Linked DNA regions of Homo sapiens: region 2 is linked to region 1. The links are contacts of gene promoters, found by promoter capture Hi-C in blood cells and fetal thymus (Javierre and others, 2016). All regions are on one chromosome and are shown on one strand. Each heading gives the region's core, a stretch centred on a gene start or on the middle of the fragment in contact. The rest is flanking DNA. Distances are from core to core; before and after follow the strand shown.

Region 1 (6,116 bases), core at 2,232-4,731:
AAAATGGGACCATCAAATTAACACAGAGCTAGACACTTCAGGAAGCAATTACCACCCCCAGGGAAGAAGTTGAAGTTATAAGAACGTAAGAGTTGGAGGCTTAAGAGCCTCAAGACTTAGACTTGAGGATGGGGCGTACACAGCTGGTGCTAATACTTCAGGAGCTCACATGAGCTGTCCGAGAGTAAAATTGGGTCTCAGACTTCCAAGGAGGGCCACTTCTTGGTGGTTGCTAAAACCTCGGAGAGAATATGATGAAACTTGCACCAGGAGTGCTAAACAAACAAACCAACCAACCAACCATACTGGAGACTGGAACCAATTGCCCCGGCCAGGTGAAGCTTTGTTGCCATGGTTACACAGGGGCTTGAACAGCAAGCAGAGAAATAGCAAATCCCTGCTCCCCACCTCCTGGCCACTCTCTCACTCCCCATATTGGCAGAATTTACCATCCACCCAGCAAAGGAGAAAATGCCGCAGCGTTCCAACTCCGGCATCACAGAACTGAGAACAGAGAAGGGAGTGTTTCTAACAGGGATGTATTTGCTTAACAATTGGCACACTGATTACAGGAAGATTTCCAACTCTTTAGCAAAACTGTTTACAATTAAGCCCCAATCTAGCTGGGCGTGGTGGCTCATGCCTGTAATTGCTGCACTTTGGAAGGCCAAGGCTGGAGGATTGATTCCTCAAGCCCACAAGTTCAAGACCCGTCTTTATAAAAAATTTAAAAACTGACCAATCATTGTGGTTTGCACCTGTAGTCCCAGCTACTTGGGAGGCTGAGATGAGAGGCTGGGGTGGGAGGTTCACTTGAGTCCAGGAGGTCAAGGCTGCAGTGAGCCCTGAGCACGCCACCGCACTCCAGCCTGCGCAACAGCATGACTCTGTCTCAAAAACAAAAACAAATAAACCCTAACCTATAGATCTAACCTACCTCTCTAGCCATTATCATCTAAACCTTTGGTTGACAATGTCTCTTTGGTTGATAATGCCTAAACACTTTCTCTAACCCTAATGGGTTCTGTTCTTTCCTAAAACTCATTTAAAAAACCCCTCATATTTCTATGCAATTGCTCCCATTAGTCACTCTGTGTGAGATTGCCCCTTCATCATCCAAATAAATTTCCAAGATCACCTTTGAAGCAATCATCTATGCTTACTGAGCACTACGTGCTGCACATTGTTTTAGGCTCTTTATAGATTTCACTTATTTAATCTCTACAGCTCTGTGGTGTATCCTATTTATTTCCATATTTTACAAATACAAATGTTAAATAACTTGCCCAAAGTCATATAGCTAATAAAAGGTAGTGTGAACCCAGAAACTCTGAGACAGGTCTCAGTTAATTTAGAAAGTTTATTTTGCCAAGGTTGAGGATGAGCACCCGTGACACAGCCTTAGGAGGTCCTGACATGTGCCCAAGGTGGTCAGGGCAGTTTGGTTTTATACATTTTAGGGAGACATGAGACTTCAGTCGACATGTGGAAGATGAACATTGATTTGGTCTGGAAAAGGTGGGACAACTAGAAGCAAAGGCAGGACAACTCAAGCAGGGAGGGGGCTTCCAGGTCATAGGTAGATGGGAGACAAATGGTTGCATTCTGTTGAGTTTCTGATGAGCCTTTCCAGAGTAGGCAATCAGGTATGCATTTAGCTCAGTGAGCTAAGCGGTGACTTTGAATAGAATAGGAGGCAGGTTTGCCCTAAGCAGTTCCCACTTTGACTTTTCCCTTTAGCTTAGTGATTTGGGGGAGGTGGGGGGGGTCCCAAGATTTAATTTCCTTTCACAGTAGAAATGGCTATTCAAAGCTTTCATCTTAAAAATCAGCTTAAAATACCACCTTCTAAGATCCAAATTAATGGTCATCTCTTTTGAGAGGACTTCTTACACTCTCCCAGGCCAAAGTATTTGCTTCCTTTCTGGTGCTAACATATTTTTACCATGGCAGAGCTTTTCAGTGTATGTAATCTTTTCACTGATATTTCTATCTCTGAATCTCTTATAAATGATCTGCCGCACAGAGCTGTCCAATCGAAATTCCTGTAGTGATGGAACAGTGCTGTGTCTGTCCTACCCAACATGGCAGCCACTAGCTACATATGGCTATTGAGCAGGTAAAATGTAGCCAGTGGAACTGAGTTTATTTAAATTTAAGTTTAAATAGCCACATGTGGCTAGTGGCTACCATATTGGATGGTAAAGATCTAGCACATACTCCAGGATAGTTCCTCAGAAAAGGTTTACAGAATGAATGAATCATTCATTAAAACTTTTTTAGCCTAACAGAAAACACTTACATAGCTTCAGTTTTGGTTTTCTTTTTTAACCACATACAGAATACACTGGTTTACTTTATTAATAAGCATGTATATGAATAAACATTAAAAATATTACATAGTATCATTATCAAGATCTATCCCATATTTTACCATGTGTATGTATCCACAGGGCCTGTCACCTGGCTCTCTGCAGCCTCAAGTTCCTGAGCTCAAGCAATCCTCCCACCTCAGCATCTGGAGTACTTGAGAGTACAGGTGTGCACCACCACACCCAGCTATTTTGTTTGTTTGTTTGTTTTGTAGCGAAAGTCTCTCCACCTTGTGTTGCCCAGGCTGGTCTTGAACTCCTGAGCTCAAACGATCCTCCCGCCTCCACCACCCAAAGTGCTGGGATTACAGGCATGACCCACTGTGCCCTGCCAAGCAAAAAAAAACAAAAAACAAAAAACAAAAAACAAAAAACTGTGGCTGTAAAAATTTTTAATGGATTTTAATAATTAAGCTTACATATTTATAATTGCCTATGCCAACTTTGCAGTTGTTTTCATTGTGTTCAGATAGATCCCAAGTGACTAGATGAATGCGTGGCACATAATATGGACTCAATACATATTTGTTGAATTAATGAAGGAATTATGCCTACTAGGAGATTTTAATTAAGTGTGAAAATCTAACCTACACATCGTTTTCAAATATTAATGTTTACAAATACTTAATGCAATAATTAAGGAAATAGTTATGTTAAATTTTGTGGACATTCATTTCCATTTCAAAGATTTTTTTCCCCCATCTCTTCCAATTCCCAAACAAAAACTGTCCTTGGCCTCTGGAGTCTTCTCACACCACTCCTCAAACTAGACGACTGAAAATAGGCCTTTGGCTGGGCAGAAACCAACAATATTTAAAATACAAAACTTATGAACGATGACATAAGAAAAAAAAAGCTCTAAATAGGTTAACAGTGAGGCCAACTAAATCTGAGACTGAAAGCGCTCCCCAGACCGCAGCCACACCACTGGGACCCCAGCTTTGCCTCCCTCGATACCCGGCCCCGCGGTCCAAAATCTGAGTAAAGCGGAAGTACGGGCGGCTGCTGCGGCGCTTGCGCAGGCGCTGAGGTCTCGCCCCATAAGACTCCGCCCCGCCCCACGAGACCGCGCCGCCAGCAATAAGGCCCAGCCCCGCCTTCTGCTGTTGCCGCAGCAACCCAGAAAGCGTCATGGCTGCCGCCGGCCAGGAAAAAGGGTATTTGACACAGACTGCGGCAGCCCTAGACAAGTCACCGTCACTTTCGCCACAGCTAGCAGCTCCCATCCGAGGGAGGCCTAAGAAGTGTCTGGTCTATCCGCATGCGCCGAAGAGCTCCCGCTTGTCTCGTTCCGTTCTGCGTTGGCTTCAGGGTCTGGATCTCAGCTTCTTCCCCAGGAACATCAACAGGTGCTTGAGTAAGCCAGTCCTAGGCCCCCCCGGTGGGCGCCCCGCCTGCTTTCCGCCGCCTGCCAGGCCTCAGATTGCCTACCCTGGCCTGGCTTATGTTTCAAATCAAGACCCCCCCACCCACGTACACACACGAAAACACTATTAGGGAACAAGGCTTTAACAAAATACCACGATACATCTTGTTTATTCAATTAATCAACCAATCATTAAATTGTGGACAATATAGAATGCTTTGGTGACTACAAAAATATTAAAATAGTCAAAGCTTTTTCTTTAGTGATATTGGGCATTAATACTGGTAAGGACGGCCGGGCACAGTTGCTCATGCCTGTAATCCCAGCATTTTGGGAGCCGAGGCAGGCGGATCACCTGAGGTCAGGAGTTGAGTAACAGCCTGACCAACACGGTGAAACCCCGTCTCTACTAAAAAATACAAAAAATTAGCCCAGTGTGGTGGCGGGTGCCTGTAATCCCAGCTACTGGGGAGGCTGCAGGCAGGAGAATGCTTGAACCCGGGAGGCGGAGGTTGCTGTGAGTCGAGATTATGCCGCTGCACTCCAGCCTAGGTGGCAGGGTAAGACTCTGTCTCAAAAAAAAAAAAAAAAAAAAAAAAAAAAAATACTGGTAAGGATCAGTTTACCCTTTGTCGGAGATGGCATCTAGTTTGAGAGTTACCAACAAGTTTTTAAAGTTGCTGCTTAATTGTAGGCACTTTGTATGTAACTGGCAGCTAATATTTGCTCTGGGAATGCAAACTAAATTCTATAAAAAGGCAATGAATCTTTTGCAGAACTCTGGTTTAAAGTAGTCTCTCCTTATCAGAGAGGCATAGGTTCCAAGATCCCCAGTGGATGGCAACTGTGGATACTACAGAACCCTCTGTCAGAACACATTTCTGTTTATGTCTTCCATCCACAAATTTAATGCCTTTTTAAAAATCTTAACTAAGCACTTATCACACACTGTGGCTGAAAGTTTTTCAGTTTGAGGTGTGATGCCGAAACTATCAAGAATTTCTTTTTCTTCATATTTCAGGAATATGATTCATTCCTACCATTGTAACCATTCTTACAACTTTCTATTAAGTCAAGAACTTTCATCTTTTCACCTAAAGGAATAATTTTATGGTTTCTCTCTGGCATATCTGAATCACCAGCATCACTGCTCTTGCACTTTGCACACAAGCGCACCACACTGTACAGTTGATCTGATGACTAAAAGGTGACTGATGTCTACAACGTGGAGACTCTGGACAAAGGGAGGACTCACATCCTAGGCAACACAGAGCAGGCAGGGAGGTTTCATCAGACTGCCCAGAACAGAGTACAATTTAAAAGTTACAAATTATTTCTTGAATTTTCCATTTAATATTTTCCGACTGTGATTGACCCAAGGTAACTGAAACTGCAGAAAGCAAAACTGCAGATAAGCGGGGGACTAGTTTACTAATTTGTCTTCAGTATTACTTACAACCATGCCTCTGAAATTTTAAAGTGCATATGAATCACCTGGGGATCTTCTTGAAATGCGGATTCAATACAAATTAACAGTTTGGGTTCATCAAAAGAACACCAAAGCCTTTGAAACGTAGATAATCTTAGCAAAATTCCACAGTAGGTTCTCCTTAGAGCAACGATCCAACAACACTCACTTTACAAGATACTTTTAGTATGGAATATTAGACTAGTATTAATTATAAAATAATACAAACTGCATAATTAACTACACTTTATTTCATTTCCTAATTGCCACGGATCAGAGATTTTTCAAATGGCTTCCTAATTGCAGAAATATTCTGTATATATTACCCCTGGGAACTTGAATTATCATCCTTTGAAAACGGGACCTCTTTAAAAGTCAAGTTGGATAACTGGGCACAGTTGGAGAAGGTACGTTAGCAGTCATTTACACTTTTAACTGTTAAGATGTTTGTTTTAAAGTGTGCCATGCTAATTTCCTGGATCTCTACGTGTATGTGTGTGACTGTGTGATACTGAGTTGGCAGCTTGTTCCTGTGTATTACAAAGTTTATTAAATTCCAACTGTTTATGTCATGAGTCACCTATGAAACTGAGCATAATTATTTCCATTAGCATGATATATACTGATTGGTTTTCCTGCTGAATATTATCTTTTAATAACTAACGTGTTAAACACAAAAATTACTTCATAGGTAAATAAAAGGGAGATTAAAGTGAATTCATAGTACTTGGAGATTTTTATAAAAGTTCTTATGATAAAAACATTTTCTTTCTACTATTAAAGTTCCTGGCAAGAAAAAAATTTAAATTACCTAAAGAACTAATCCATGGAACAATTCATTGTAAAGCTGGAGTGCCTGAAATATTGATAGAAGAGGTTTACACTTTATTAACACATCGAGAGTAAGTTC
Region 2 (5,910 bases), core at 2,588-5,087, 7.2 Mb before region 1:
GTTAAATTGAATAGGCTCATTATCAAGAGCTGAACACGGCTCTCTGTTCTTTCCGGTATTCTAAAAGATGCATAAACACAAAAACCATCCAGTTCTAGATTTGAAAATTGAAGGGAATCGCTTTTAATCTATTCTGGCTCAGGGGATTGCTGTAAAAAAAAAAATTAAATAAAGATGTATATCACACAATTACCTGGTTGTCTAATTTATAATGACAAGTCATGGGAAGCCTATTTGCAGGAATTGGTTCTGACTTGGAGAAAAAAAACACAACTTCTTGAAAAGGTAAAATAGCTTAAAGCATTTAATATCTAAACAAATCAATCTGTTAATAGTAGTCACAAAATATGCTTAATATAGAAACCCACATTCATGTTTTTAAGAAAAAAGTGTAAATTGTATTCCACCTCAAAACATAAATTAACCCGCTTAAAGAATCTTCAGCGGTCAAAGTCATGGTGAATTTTAAACAACTTCAGAGTAAAATAACAAGTACTTTATACTGCTTTATATCTAAAAAATGCTTACAACTTCTCATAAAAATAGTTTGAAGCAACTATTTTTTCTTTTATTTTTTAACAGACACGTTCAACATTACGGGCAACATTTTTAAAACCTTAAGCTTTACAGACTTTCAAACATTCAAATACTGTGGTCCCTTTCCTTTGATGTGGTTTATTCAGCTAGAAAAGAAAACATGGTAGACAACTTAATACATTTTCACCAAATTGAAAGTAGTACAAAAATTTTAGGACTCTACCGAACTACACATCGTACCTAATGTATCATTAAAAATAGAAGACAGTATTTTCTTCAGCAAATAAAACAGCATACTAATATGCTGCTAATGCATACCTTTTAATGTGTACTGTCATTCATAAATTATTTACAACTGCTACTGTGTGAAGAGAACTAGAATGTAAATTTTCTGCAAAACTGGAAAAAAAGCAATACAAAATTTGTGAAAGCCTGTGTTTTATACTATACAAAAGTCAGTTTTTCTCTTCAAATACCAGATATTGTATGCAGTGATATTTTGGACACATTATAGTAATTCTTGAGGATGTTTTAGTGCTGGAGGTAAGTTTACAGGCCTCGATTCTTCATCAAGGAGTACTAGATCTTCTATTTCACTGCCTCTGTATTTCCTTTTACATATTTTTACCACCACCTTTTTCTTGAGAAATAACTTCAATGCTTCTCTTGATGCAACTGCTTTTGCATTTTCTTTGCTTTTTCCACAGCCAGTGCCCAAATACACAGACTTGCACCTCAATTCACAAACAATACTTTCTTGAGAGCTCTTATTTTGAGGCAGATCTGCCAATTCTTTTAGTGGGACAAAAAATACATCCAGTGTTGCTTTCAGAGCCTCAATAGCTGCATTTAGGAGCTCTCCATGATTCACATTGGGACTAAAGCCACCAACAGCTACCAACTTCCATGCCACCGTTTTATATAGTCTATTGAAAAAAGGTTGCTTCTGTTTCACATCTTCATTGGTTAACTTGCAAGAGAATTTGACAGAACTCTCACTTGACTGTGAAGTACTTTTAGAAGGCAACTGTGAGGTGCTAGTCTGAGAACTACTCTTAGAAGCCAACTGGGACACACTTGCTAAGGAAGTGCTTTTGGAAACCAGAGATCCACTGGTCTGGGAGCTGCTCTTGGAAGCTAGTAGTGATGCAGCTACCTGGGAAGTGCTCTTGGAAGTTAGCAGCGATGTATTTGTTGAAGAGCTGCTCTTGGGAGTCAGTAAGGATGTGCCTGATGAGGAACTGTTTTTAGCAACTGATGATGAAACACTTGCCTCTGAACTAGTTTTGGAAGTTAACCCACTTGAAGCTGTCTCTGAACTAGGTTTGGAAGACAATAGTGGCAATTCTACCTCTGAGCTTCCTGAGGAGCCCAACAAGGGCACCTCGATCTCTGAGCTGCTTTGAGAAGCTGAGGCTGAAGAGCCTTCCAAAGCACTCTTTTTAGGTGATCCACTTTGTTGTCTAGAATCAGTGGATTGGGTCATGTGACTATTCACACTGGATTTCAGCAAGGAAACAAATGATGCAGAACCGTGTTTATCTGGAGCTTCTGCTTCAGAAGCTTTCCCAGATCCTGCCGTTGTTACCTGAGAGGAAACGCTGCTGCTGCTTTGGCTGGAAACAGATCGATCTCCATCACTTGTAGAGCTATTCTGACTGGAGATGCCAGAGCTCCGAGCTGAGTTCCCACTCTCTGATTTGATGGCCGACCCTATACACGTTGAACTGTTTTCCTGCTGAGCTGATGCACGTTCTGTCTTGGCAGAGGTTTTTGCGTGATCTTGCTCAACTGCAGAACTGTTTTTTCCTTCTATAACTCGTTTTTTGGATGGCTCTTCTACCCCTTCTAAAAAGAAGAAAAACATAGATATGTGACTAAGAATACCTCGTACAAAACGGGTGATGAGACAAATACACATTAAAATAAAGGCACAAAGTGAAAACATTTCAAGACTAATCGTTTCTTTAAAAAGTGTGGAGTCATTAATTTCTTAAAACAGTGTTGAATAACATCATGAATGTCTAATATTAAAAAAATAACAGCATCAGACAACAGTGGACACTTCAAAATCTAAAGCAGTCAAAGCAAACTATCAAATTCAAAGCCTAAAGACACAGATATATACTTTAGGTTTAACATTCCAACTTTATTACTTATTAATAACATAAAAATTCTGGCTTGTTAAAAAAATTAGTAACAATAATTCCTAATTATATCAAACTTATGCTCTAAACTCCTATGTATGTTCACATCTATGATCTGCTAACCATTGCTACTCGATATCCCTCTTTTCTTCACCTTGGCAACCAGTTCATCTCTTGTTGTATAGGTTGGAGCATCTGTCACTTTGATGCCTTCAGCCATACTAAGTATTTTATCCATAACTTTTTGAGGGTATCTGAAAAAGAAGGAAAAGTCATTTTTAAAAAGTGTTTTTTCTAAGGTCCTACTTGTGCAAAAAACAGGCCACAGGGACTGCATTTCCTGGCTGCAATCAAGAAAGTGAACCAACCGCCAAGAACTGTTTCCTGGAACCCCATAAACAAGTGCCCCAGGGTCTGGGAGGCAGGGCACCTCCTCACTAATCTTAAATCTCGCACCCGTCCCCAAGAGCGTTGTTCCCTAACACAAGCAACCCTACCAGCAGCTGCGCCCACACCACCGGGCACACAGACGTCCGGGAATCATGTCGGCTCCTCGCAGGGACGCCCTTCTCCCCCTTAGAGGGCAGCCGGGCCGGCGGATTCCCGCGCTTCACAACTTCCCCTCCCCGCCGAGGCCGGTCCCGCGGAGGGCGCCGGGCCCCGGTCTGCAGGTGGCACACAAAACGAGGCGTGCTGGTTAGGGACGCTGCCTCACTCACCGGCACCCGAGGAAGACGTGGTTCGCCCAGGCCATGGAAAAGGAGATGAGCTGCTGCAGCTGCCGGTTTCGGGTCCCGCTCTCGGCGTCGGCAGCTTCATCCGTGCTAGCGGAGGCAGCGCCGCCAGCGGGGGCCAGGTCCCCGGCGTTGCGAAGCAAAAAATCCCGGCGGTGGCGCCAGTGTTTGTCAGTCTCGCCGTCGCAGCGCAGCGCCTCCACCCAGGCTGCCACCCGCGGGTTCTGGCTCAGGTACTCCGACACCTCCTGCGCCATGTTGGGCCTGCAGGCCGCGAACACAGCTGCACCGGGAGACAGGCAGGACTAGCGGGGCGAGCGGCCCTGTCACTGCGGCCTGCACCCGCGGCCCTCCAGATAACGCCCCTCCGCAGGCCTAAAGACCAAACAACAGCGCCCAGAGCCGCCGAACCGCCCACTTCCGCCCACCGCCGGCTTCTTCCCTTTTATAACCTCGCCGCCGCCGCGCGCCCTCGCGTTCTTCCGGCGCGAGCCGGCGCTCCCAAGACGCTTTGCGGCGCCGGGGCCGCTGCGACGCTGCGTCCCCGTGAGGCCACGGAGGGCACCCCGGGGGTGAGGTGGGCGGGCGTCGGGCGTCTCCCGCCCCACGAGGGCGGACTGCAAGTCGAGCTGGCCTGGGACGACCGAGTCTCGGCGGAACCCCGGGCGTTCTGTCCTCGCTTTGTGACGCCGCGCGCTCCTGCCGTCCTCCTCCCCCGCCGGGTCAGCTGCGGCGCCGGGAGCAGAGGCGAGAGGGGCAGGGCCCGGGCAAGGGAGGCAGCCGGGCGCGGCGGCCAAAGTCCGCTAGGGGGGCGTCCCGGGGGACCTTGAGCCGCCCGCAGCCGCGGGGCCTGTGGTCTCCGCCCTGAGACGCCTGTGTGTGAGCGGGGCCAAAACAAACAAAAGCCGGCCTCCATGTTAGAGTGTTGGGAGCTGCGTCTCGCGCTGCTTTCAGTGTGCCCGAGCGAAGCGTTCCGAGGCCGTCGGGGTCTCCGCGCCTTCAGGAGGGCGGGAGTGCCAGTCCCCTTACATAGCAGCAGTAGACAGTAAGGTCACACGAGGACCTGGCTCCGTGTTGCCGTGAGGCTTGCAGCCTTCGAAGCTGGCCCTGGCCCCGCAGCGGTAGGGCTTGTTCCCGCAGTTTATTAGGTCTCTAGTTAATCCAGGCATTGCCTTCCTGTTCTGGTCAGTAGGAAAACAACACCCCGACAACGCTCTGTCTCTAGAATTTCCTAAAATCAACAGCTTTACCACCAACCGGCAGATGTCCGGAGGTGGAGTGGAAATGTACCTATTTATCTATAGGGCCCCAAACCTCTCTCCCTGTTAGAGCTGTTTTTTCCTTCTATATATTTTTTTCCACTTTACATTTCCCACAGTTACGTACTCTAACTGCTGGCTGGCTTATTGTTACGTTTCCCATTCCAGGTATACATGCACTGTAAGATAAATACGTTAAATGATATAAATTATGAAATTTTTCTTTCAATAAATGTAGACTTTGATGTAAAAATGCATGAATCAGAATAAGCAAGCAAAAAAAGGTCACTTTAGGTAAGATCAGATAAGGTTAACTGTGTAATTTATGTGCATGCTGGAACAAAATACAGCTATTGTATGAAAACAATATTGCCCATTTTCCTGCCATACCAAAAGAAACTACATAAAAACGGAGGCACAAAGAAATTTTGAAGCTTTGTGATTTTGCTTCTAGTTTGCTGTTCTTTCCTCCTTTTCACAGATAATTGCTGAAAATCTAGAGGGGGTGGACGGATTGCAGAAATCTGGCTATTTAAAAGGTGGAGAAATTACGATTTCTCCTTTCATGAATTCTTTGGCAAGGGGACCATGGCAAGTAAAAGAAGCTATGATCGCATACCTAGATTATATATGTGCATTTTAAATCAAGAATGTTCTCACGGCCAGGTGCAGTGGCTCACGCCTGTAATCCCAGCACCTTGGGAGGCCGAGGCGGACGAATCATGAGGTCAGGAGTTCGAGACCAGCCTGGCCAATGTAGTGAAACCCCATCTCTACTAAAAATACAAAAGTTAGCCAAGTGTGGTGGCACGTGCCTGTAGTCCCAGCTACTCTGTAGGCCGAGGCGGGAGAATCGCTTGAACTCAGGAGGCAGAGGTTGCAGTGAGCCGAGACCAAGCCATTGCACTCCAGCCTGGGTGACAGAGTGAGACTTCATCTCAAAAAATAATAATAATAATGTTCTCACTTTTTTTCTTGTTGCCCTGTAGTCTTCTTCCCACTCATGGGCTTCATTGCCTTGAAAGGAGAACAAGTAGAGCCTGAATTTCAAACAATTTTTTTAATTATAATAAAAGCGATAGAGTCTGAAAGATGGAGTACTTGTGCAAAAACCAGGTGCTTGGAATAAAAGATACATGCATTTTTCTTTTTTGATTCTTAAAAAGTTGACTTTGCATATAAAGATTCAAAGACTATGAACCACAAGTAGCTGGGACTGCAGGCGGGTACCAC

Evidence for each region. The method cuts DNA at HindIII sites, captures the fragments that hold promoters and counts their contacts. A CHiCAGO score of 5 or more calls a contact.
Region 2: the fragment with the promoter of CDKN2AIP here is called in contact with the fragment with the promoter of SPATA4 in region 1 in 1 of 17 cell types (total CD4 T cells); the score reaches 6.6 in total CD4 T cells.

What each region holds. Positions count from the first base shown.
Region 1 is chr4:176,192,950-176,199,065 of GRCh38, reverse strand. SPATA4 (spermatogenesis associated 4) reads left to right here and starts at 3,481. Exons shown (of 6, transcript NM_144644.4): 1 at 3,481-3,721; 2 at 5,484-5,613; 3 at 5,990-6,108. The coding sequence starts at 3,504. The HindIII fragment of the contact is 1,203 bases long and covers 2,789-3,991 here.
Region 2 is chr4:183,442,563-183,448,472 of GRCh38, reverse strand. It overlaps CDKN2AIP (CDKN2A interacting protein), which reads right to left and starts at 3,837. Exons shown (of 3, transcript NM_017632.4): 1 at 3,404-3,837; 2 at 2,808-2,938; 3 at 1-2,385. The coding sequence starts at 3,675. The coding sequence ends at 1,046. RefSeq lists an enhancer at 3,383-3,532 and a silencer at 3,813-4,362. The HindIII fragment of the contact is 3,011 bases long and covers 2,103-5,113 here.